3 separate regions of the Homo sapiens genome follow, and all the other regions are linked to region 3. Evidence: promoter capture Hi-C in 16 types of primary human blood cells and fetal thymus (Javierre and others, 2016). All regions are on one chromosome and are shown on one strand. Each heading gives the region's core, a stretch centred on a gene start or on the middle of the fragment in contact. The rest is flanking DNA. Distances are from core to core; before and after follow the strand shown.

Region 1 (2,700 bases), core at 84-2,583, 350 kb after region 3:
CCCAAAGTGTTGGGATATTATAGGCGTGAGCCACCGCGCCCGACCAGAACATGGAAATTTAAAGAGAAAAAAATAAGTGACTTCTGATTTCAAAAACACAACCACCCACTTTTCTATTCTATTCCTGGTGAGCACATTCTGGAGACTCTGCGGCAACCATAGCCTCGGCCGCGGCGGAAGGCTCCGGGGCGGCCACACCTCAGGGGGCAGCCACACCTCAGGGGGCAGCGCGCACAGGCGGGTCAGGCTCTGATTCCCATCTCTCTCCGGTCTTCACTGGAAGGACCCACACTACATCACAAACTAATGGCTTTACAATTAACTTCTAAGTAGCTAAATTTAGTAATGGGCGCTCTAGTTTTAAAAAATATTATTCAGGCCGGGCGCGGTGGCTCACGCCTGTAATCCCAGCACTTTGGGAGGCCGAGGCTGGTGGATCACCTGAGGTTAGGAGTTCAAGACCAGCCTGGCCAAAAGGGTGAAAACCCGTCTCTGCAAAAATACAAAAAATTAGCCAGGCGTGGTGGCGGACGCCTGTAGTCCCCAGCTACTCGGGAGGCTGAGGCAGGAGAATCGCTTGAACCCGGGAAGCGGAGGTTGCAGTAAGGCGAGGTCGCGCCACTGGACTCCAGCCTGGGCAACAAGAGCGAAAGCGAAACTCTGTCTCAAAAAAAGAATATTATTCAAAAACTGATTTTCACATTTTTAAAAAAGACCCACTGAGGGAGGAAGACCGAATCCCACACATGCGCGCGCACAGCGGTTCCGAGTTCTGCAACCAACCTCCCACGGGCGCCGCGCCTTCTCCGCGTCACGTGACGGCCGTCTCCCGCACCTTCCATACTCTCAATGTAGGGAGAGGACGGGTTCCATCAGCAATTTAATAAAAACCATTGGTGAAGCAAAAAAAAAAAGCCTGCCAACCTCTTATAACGTTTTTTCTTTATTTTTCTCTTTTATGTGGACAGGAAGCCTTAGGTTGGCTATATTTACCCTCAAATCTCTTTTTAAAATGATTTTTAAGTTTCAGCATACTCCCGCGCTTAATGAAATGGTTTCCCCCAGCATCCCCAGCTGGTGCGGTCTGAACCATTCGGAACTTCCCAGAGGGGGGCACCGGAATAGGGGCGGTGGAAAAGGGTAATTGTCGGGCAGCGGCCCCTGCTTCCCAGTCAGACCTCGGAGTTGTAGGACTCGGACTGTGTTCCTGGGCTTGCGAGAGCTAGGGAGGCCCGGCTCTCCTCGCGGTGCAGGACGCGCTCGGACGGCTCCCGCACCCCCACCGCAGTGTTGGGTGGTGGTACGGCTCAGGGAGTCACGCGCCTGGGTGTCGGCGGGGCTGCGGGACCGCGAGTGAGTGTGGTCGCTCCTGGTTCTGCCAGCTCCCCTGAGAGCCTGAACCCGGGCTTGAGAGCCTCGCCACCCCGGGTGACATCCCTGCCGTGGGCTTGGGGGCTCTGGGTGTGATTCCGCCGGTCCGGGTCCCGCAGCGACCACCTACCCAGCGCAGTCAGGGGCGGGGCTGGGACCCAGAGCGGGACCCCGGCTGCCGAGTCCAGGTGTCCCGCGGGCCTCGATTTGGGGAGCAGGTAGGCGGGGGTCTGAGGGGTTGGCGGAGGGGCATGTCCGAGTTTTCGTTGGTCCCAGGTGGACGAGTAATGGGGGAGGGTTTAGGGCCAGAGTCCAGGGCGTCGCCGAGACCCTGAGATTTGAAGATAGGTTGGGGGCACGCCCATTAACCAAGTCTATGGGGATGAGGACTGTGATCTCATTTGATGTTGCCATGAAACGGGACTGTTTGCCTTCCCTTCTCCCAGGTTTTGTCTTCGCTCTGTTTGGAGGAGAGGGTGTGTGTCATCCTCTTCTCCCAGTTTGGCGTTCAGGAGGGTCCTCTGATGCGCTAATAGGGTAGCACCGTGTCCTCCAGGGAGGGTGGAAGACCGCGCTTCTCTCCAGTTGAGAGTACTGTCAGTCGCGTCCTTGTCTCCTGGAAAGAATGGATTGGCTTGTGGATTGAAGTCCAAGGTGTGGTCACTAGCAGTCTCTTCAAGTGGGGACACAGGGCAAGGAGGAGCTTGCTGGAAGTAGGTTCTGGCTCTCTAGCCTTTGGCCACAGCCAGTTTAGTGCCAGATTATCACCGTGGTCATCAAGTAATTGAGTAATAGTGGCAGGTGACACTGCGTTTGCCCTTCTAGTGTCCTATGTCAGGGAGCTCTGTGAATGGAAATCCAGGGAAACGGTGGAAATAGAGCCACAGTGAGAGTGGATCTGAACTGGCAGTCATCCCCTGCAGAACTTTTCACCCTGGGCTTGTTGGGATCCCAGCTGCTAACTTAATGAGGCTCCCCAGTGGGAGACTAGTTATAGAAGCTGTGTGTCCACTGCTGGTTAAGATCCGTTATAGTGCTTTGTTTATTTAGAGTGCCCTTACTTAGTGGCCTCTTTAATTCTCCACGGTGCTATGAGAACACCATAGGAAGTAGGGTTGAAATAGGGCCAGGGCGCACCACGGGTGGTGGTGAGGTCACTGTCCAGGTCTGGGACTCAGCCATTGTGGGAGGGGGACATGAACAGACACTCTACCACATCAGGGAATTTGAATACTGTCTTTGGATATGTTGATGAAGAGACTGTCAGCCAGGGCATTTCGGCTTCCTATGTGGGTTCTGGAAAGCTTGTTGGAAACAGACTCGTGAGAC
Region 2 (2,700 bases), core at 105-2,604, 310 kb after region 3:
GATCCGTAAACCAAAAGTATCTGAGACCAGTCTCAATCGAGAAAGTTTATATTGCCAAGGTGAAGGATGCGATGATAACACGGCCTCAGGAGCTCCTCAGGACATGTGCCCAAGGTGCGGGTACAGTTTGGTTTTATACATTTTAGGGAGACATGAGTCATCGATCAATACATGTAAGATGTACGTTGGTTAGGATCGGAAAGACGGGCTAACTCGGGGCAGTGGGGGGCTTCTACCTTATAGGTAGACTTAAAGATTTTTTGATTGGTAATTGGTTGAAAGAGTTATTATCTAAAGACCTGGAAGTAAATAGAAAGAAATATCTGGGTTATGATTATAAGGGGTTGTGGAGACCAAGGTTTTATCATGCAGATGAGGCTTCCAGGTAGCCTGCTATTCAGACAGAATAGATTGTAAATATTTCTTATCAGTCTTGAGTCTACCAGTCTTAAGGTCTCTGTGTTGATGTTTGTGAGGCATGTCTGACTACCACTTCCCATCATGGCCTGAACTAGTTTTTCAGGATAAATTGGAATGTCCTTGGCTTCAGATAGGGTCCACCAGTCAGTTGGGGGGCTTAGACTTTTATTTTTGGTTTACAGATATCACATGGACTATAGAGACACATTTCTGTAACAGAGTAGAAGTGCAACATGAGAAGAACAAAGTGCTTTAGGCGACAAGCGGAGGAGGGAGACATCAATCCCAGATGGGAAAAATCAATTCACTTTCTGTGTGTGGTGTTACTTATTTATTTATTTTTTGCAGGGAAGGGATCGATTCATTCAACGTACACCTTGAATGAATAACTATAGTTCTCCCTACGTCCTATGCACTGTCCTAAGTGTTTTACGTGGTTAAGGACACTAAGATTTTACAGATGGGGAAAACAATGCACACGACAGTCAAGTGACCCGCTCAACGTCACACAGCTACTAAGTGGTAGAAAAGGCAGTTGAACCCAGGCTGCTTGGCTCCAGAGTCTAATATCACGGGGAAAACCTCACGGGAGACGTGGCAACGAAGTTGTGCTTCATTGAAGTATCTGTCCAGGTGGAAAACCGCAGGGCCTCTCTAGCAAAATCCAGAACCAGAAAATACTTGCTTAATTATGAGTTTCCTTCCTTCTTTTGCCCACTATCCCCATTTAACCTGCGGAGGGATTTCAGAAGTGCAGTGAATAAAGATGCAGGGGACTATGGAACACTAATTTCCGGCTACGGCGAATTCAGGCTGTTTCCATGGAAACAGTAACGGGTGGGCAGCTAGGTATAGTCTCGCGGTGCTTGAACCAGCGGAAGTGACGTCGCCGCTCGCGAGGACCTCAGGTGGATCGCCGCGGCCCCTCCTCCCAGAGCGGCAGCCTTTTCCCGCGCGTGCTGCCTTCGCCGCTCGGGCCGCCCGGGGGAAAACATGGCGTCTGCCCTGGAGCAGTTCGTGAACAGTGTCCGACAGCTCTCAGCTCAAGGTAACGCCCTAGGCCGCCGGGCTGGGCATGGGCGGGTACCGGGAACTGGCCTGGATCCCCAGGCGCCAGCACGGACGGCTGGAACAGCCCTTTTAGTCCTGAGACTCTTCTCCGGGGCCGGGCTTGGGGTTGCGGCGTTTAGATCAGGGCAGGATCGAGCGCGGCCGAGTGTAGGCAGCCCCCTCGCGCTCCGCTGTCCTCGCCGGCCGGCCTCCCCTCCCTCGGGCCGCCGGGAGCCCCCTCCCCCCGGCCTGGGCCCCTTCCACCGGGCGCTTTGCTTGACAGTTTGGGGGCGTGACTTCCGCCAGGAGCCATCTCGGGCGACTATTGGTTCCTTCTGTCTCTCTTGCCTTCGGTGATTGGCGCACCGCCATGTCATCTTTGCCGCCGATCCGCAGCTTGCTGACTAGGCCGCCGGGAGCGGGCGGGAGGCGAGTCCGTTCTGGGTGTCTTGGCTCTATGGCTCGCCTCTGCCAGCTCCTCCGCTGCCAGGCGGCGCACGCTCGGGAACCTGTGCGCCTATTTTGGTCCTACAGAATGCTGCGGAAGCTCTCGCTCGTAGGACTCCATTTCTTCTTCTTTGTTTTTTTTTAGCCGAGGCTGGAGTGCAGTGGCGCGATCTCGGCTCACTGCAACCTCAGCCTCCCGGCTTCAAGCGATTCTCCTGTCTCAGCCTCCCGAGTAGCTGAGATTACAGGCGCCCGCCAGCTCACACGGCTTTTTTTTTTTTTGAGACGGAGTCTCACTGTCTCCCAGGCTGGAGTGCAGTGGCGCGGTCTCGGCTCACCTCAACCTTCGCCTTCGAGGTTCAAGCGATTCTCCTGTCTCAGCCTCCCGAGTAGCTGGGATTACAGGCGCCTGCCCGGCTAATTTTTGTATTTTTAGTAGAGACAGGGTTTCACCATGTTGGCCTGGCTGGTCTCGAACCTTGATCTCAGGTGATCCACTGGCCTCGGCCTCCCAAAGTGCTGGGATTACAGGCATGAGCCACCGCGGCCAGCCCACGCGGCTAATTTTTTCGTATTTTTAATAGAGATGGGGTTTTTACCATGTTGGCCAAGCTGGTTTCGAACTCCTCACCTGAAGTGATCCGCCCACCTCGGCCTCCCAAAGTGCTAGGATTACAGGCGTGAGCCACTGCGCCCGGCCAGGACTCCATTTCTAGGGGTAGAATTGTGATGATTTTACTCGCACTTTCCAGGTTGTTTGGTTCATTCATTGCGTATGAATGT
Region 3 (2,700 bases), core at 10-2,509:
CAATATTGATTTTAGACAGGTACTGACCGCACCGGACCGCCGCGGAAACTGGGAGAGGGATCTGCAAGGCCCGAGGGGCGTGAAGGCTTGCGGCGCCTCAAACGCTGCGGGGCGGGGCCGCCAGTTCCCAGGCAATGGGGGCGTGGCGTGGCGGGGGTGGGGGAGCCGCGTGCGGGAGCGCCGGCTGGTGTCTGTGTGTGTGCGTGTGCGCGCGCGTGTAAACCTCAGATTGCGTGTGTCAGAGACGGGGGCGTTCCTGAGCTCGTCTGATTGTGTGCCTGTGTGTGGCCCTGAGATTGTGTGAGACTCAGAGGTTGTCCGTGTTAGTCTTTGGGATTGTGTCTCACTGAAATTATGTGATGCTCTGAGAGTGTGCCGGAGAGTGAGTGTGAGTGTGTATGACCGAGGCTGTGTGTGACTGAGCGTGGGCGAGGGTGAAGGAGGCCGATTATATGTTTGGGAGTGTGTTGTGTGGCCCCTGCTCCCGTCCATCCCCCAGGGTCAGGAGGCCAGCTTTTGCCCAGAGGCAAGAGAGTGGTGGGGACCCTGCCTGTCTCCCAGCCGGCCCTGGGCAGGCTGCAGACCACCACCCAGCCGTTTCGGGGCCATAATGGGTGCGACCGGCCCCAGAAGCTGGGGGCCTGGCTTGCCTGCTGAGGCTGCCCTCTGCAGAGTCCTAGGCCAGAGAGTGCCTGTCCTGGCATCTCCCCAGGCTCCCAATTCCAATGGATTCCAATTTCCAACCTCTCTTGCATTCTCCCTTCTATCAAAGCTTCCTCTTAGATGCTCCATTTACCTTTTTCATCACCCACTCTTCATGAAGCCTGTAAGGCACATCTCTGCCCCAAGCAGCTTCTAATCCAGTTCTTTCGCTCCCTTCATTCCTTACTCACATGTGCATTTATTCACTCACTGATCCAGCCAGTATTGATTCAGGGCCGGCTGAGGGCCTCGTGTCACTCAGAAGTTTAAGGGCACTTCTGTCACTGAGCTTTCATTCTAGGGAGGGAGATTGTAGGCCTGGAAAGCCAGAGAGTTCTCTGAAGGAGCTAATACCAGTTAGTGTTTTGAAGAGTAGCTGATGGGAAGGCGGGATTGAAATCCCAAGAGAGCCTGTTGCCGTATCTGCGAGGGAGGGACCTGGGATCTGAGAGCCGAAAGGTCAGTCAGTGGGGCAAGATTCCCCAGAGGAGGGAGGCAGTTGCGAAGCCCTCCAGGAGGCACAGGAGGAGATGGGCCGCTGGCCCTGAGGGAGCGCAGGACCGTTGGCCAGATGGGTGCTCAGCAGAGGACAGGAAGAAGACTATTACTTTAGTAAACTGTCCATTGAATTACAACATGCAGTCAGATGAGTGATGGGTCCTACCCCTACAGCTCCTGCATTTTCACCAGGTGAACCTGTATCTGTTAATCCTCAGATCAAGATGGGGGGTCATGATCACCTCCAGGGGCTGCCCTCAGAAGCCACCGTGTAGAAGGGTGGGTGGGGGAGCCATGTAGAAGGGGGGGCAGAATGCAAGGGGGCAGTGTCCCTTTGCAGACCCATCTAGGGGCCTGCCCCAGGGCCTGCCAGTGGGCAGGGGAGACTAACCGGGTGTGTGAGGGGTGGGCTTCTCTGCTCTTTCTCCTTTCTCCCCAGGGCTGTGCAGCTGGAGAGAGCTGGGGCTGGGGTTCGGGTCAGGGTGACCCTTGTTGACTAACATTCTGCTTTTCTTCTGCTGTCCTTGTTGGTGCAGTTAAGCTTCCTGTTGCCAAGGGATTTTTCTTAAAGAAAGAAAGAAAGAAACATACAACATACAACATTACATATTTGCTTATGTGGTAGCTCTACTCCCTCCTCAATCAAAATCTCCGGTTTTAAAATATGTCAGTCCCTGGCCTGGGAGAGTTGCAAGGTTTTTGTTCACCCCATGGGCGTCTGAGCTGCAGGATCTCCGGTGCTAGCCCTGTGCTGCTGTGCTGTCCAGTAGAAACATCGTGTGCCACATGCATAATTTAAACCTTTCTAGTAGCCATGTTAAATTAGTGAGAAGAAATGGAAAATAGCAAAGAAATAGAAAAATAATTTTGACAATATATTTTATTGTTACCAAAATATATATCAGACATATTTTGTCCTGTGGCATTCCAAGCTTGTGGCACTGCCTGTGACCAGTGGCTGCCATGTCATACCAAACAGTGCTGCTCTGGGTACCATGCCCTCCACCAGCTCTTTTCTGGGCCTGCTTCAGCAGGTACAGAATCTTGCTTTTGTTTTTAAAAAAAAAAAAAAAAAAATCAGCTGTTGGGGCTGGGCACGGTGGCTCACGCCTGTAATCCCAGCACTCTGGGAGGCCAAAGCAGGTGGATCACCTGAGGTCGGGAGTTTGAGACCAGCCTGACCAACATGGAGAAATCCCATCTCTACTAAAAATATAAAAAGTTAGCCAGGCGTGGCGGCACATGCCTGTAATCCCAGCTACTCGGGAGGCTGAGGCAGGAGAATCACTTGAACCCCGTAGGTGGAGGTTGCAGTGAGCTGATATCACGCCATTGCACTCCAGCCTGGGCTAGAAGAGCGAAACTCTGTCTCAAAACAAAAACAAACAACCCAAAGAATCAGCCATTGGGCTGAGGAGTTAGGGTGAGGAGTGTGCCCGCTGCAGCCCCACTGACTAAGGCCCTTTTGCTCCTTGTTGCCCTCCCTGTCAGGATTCTGGA

The links. The method cuts DNA at HindIII sites, captures the fragments that hold promoters and counts their contacts. A CHiCAGO score of 5 or more calls a contact.
Region 1: a contact is called between the fragment with the promoter of FLCN here and a fragment that was not itself captured in region 3, in 1 of 17 cell types (fetal thymus). The highest score is 5.3, in fetal thymus.
Region 2: the fragment with the promoter of COPS3 here is called in contact with a fragment that was not itself captured in region 3 in 1 of 17 cell types (erythroblasts); the score reaches 5.4 in erythroblasts.

The regions. Positions count from the first base shown.
Region 1 is chr17:17,235,801-17,238,500 of GRCh38, reverse strand. FLCN (folliculin) reads left to right here and starts at 1,333. Exons shown (of 14, transcript NM_144997.7): 1 at 1,333-1,589. RefSeq lists a silencer at 387-572 and an enhancer at 1,007-1,116. The HindIII fragment of the contact is 3,806 bases long and covers 1-2,677 here.
Region 2 is chr17:17,279,900-17,282,599 of GRCh38, reverse strand. COPS3 (COP9 signalosome subunit 3) reads left to right here and starts at 1,354. Exons shown (of 12, transcript NM_003653.4): 1 at 1,354-1,468. The coding sequence starts at 1,414. RefSeq lists enhancers at 1,157-1,256, 1,907-1,966 and a silencer at 1,477-1,716. The HindIII fragment of the contact is 7,073 bases long and covers 1-2,700 here.
Region 3 is chr17:17,588,850-17,591,549 of GRCh38, reverse strand. PEMT (phosphatidylethanolamine N-methyltransferase) reads left to right here. Exons shown (of 7, transcript NM_148172.3): 1 at 1-19. Among named protein-coding and RNA genes, the nearest start is that of PEMT, 1.5 kb to the left of the region's middle. RefSeq lists enhancers at 1-90, 1-397. The HindIII fragment of the contact is 969 bases long and covers 775-1,743 here.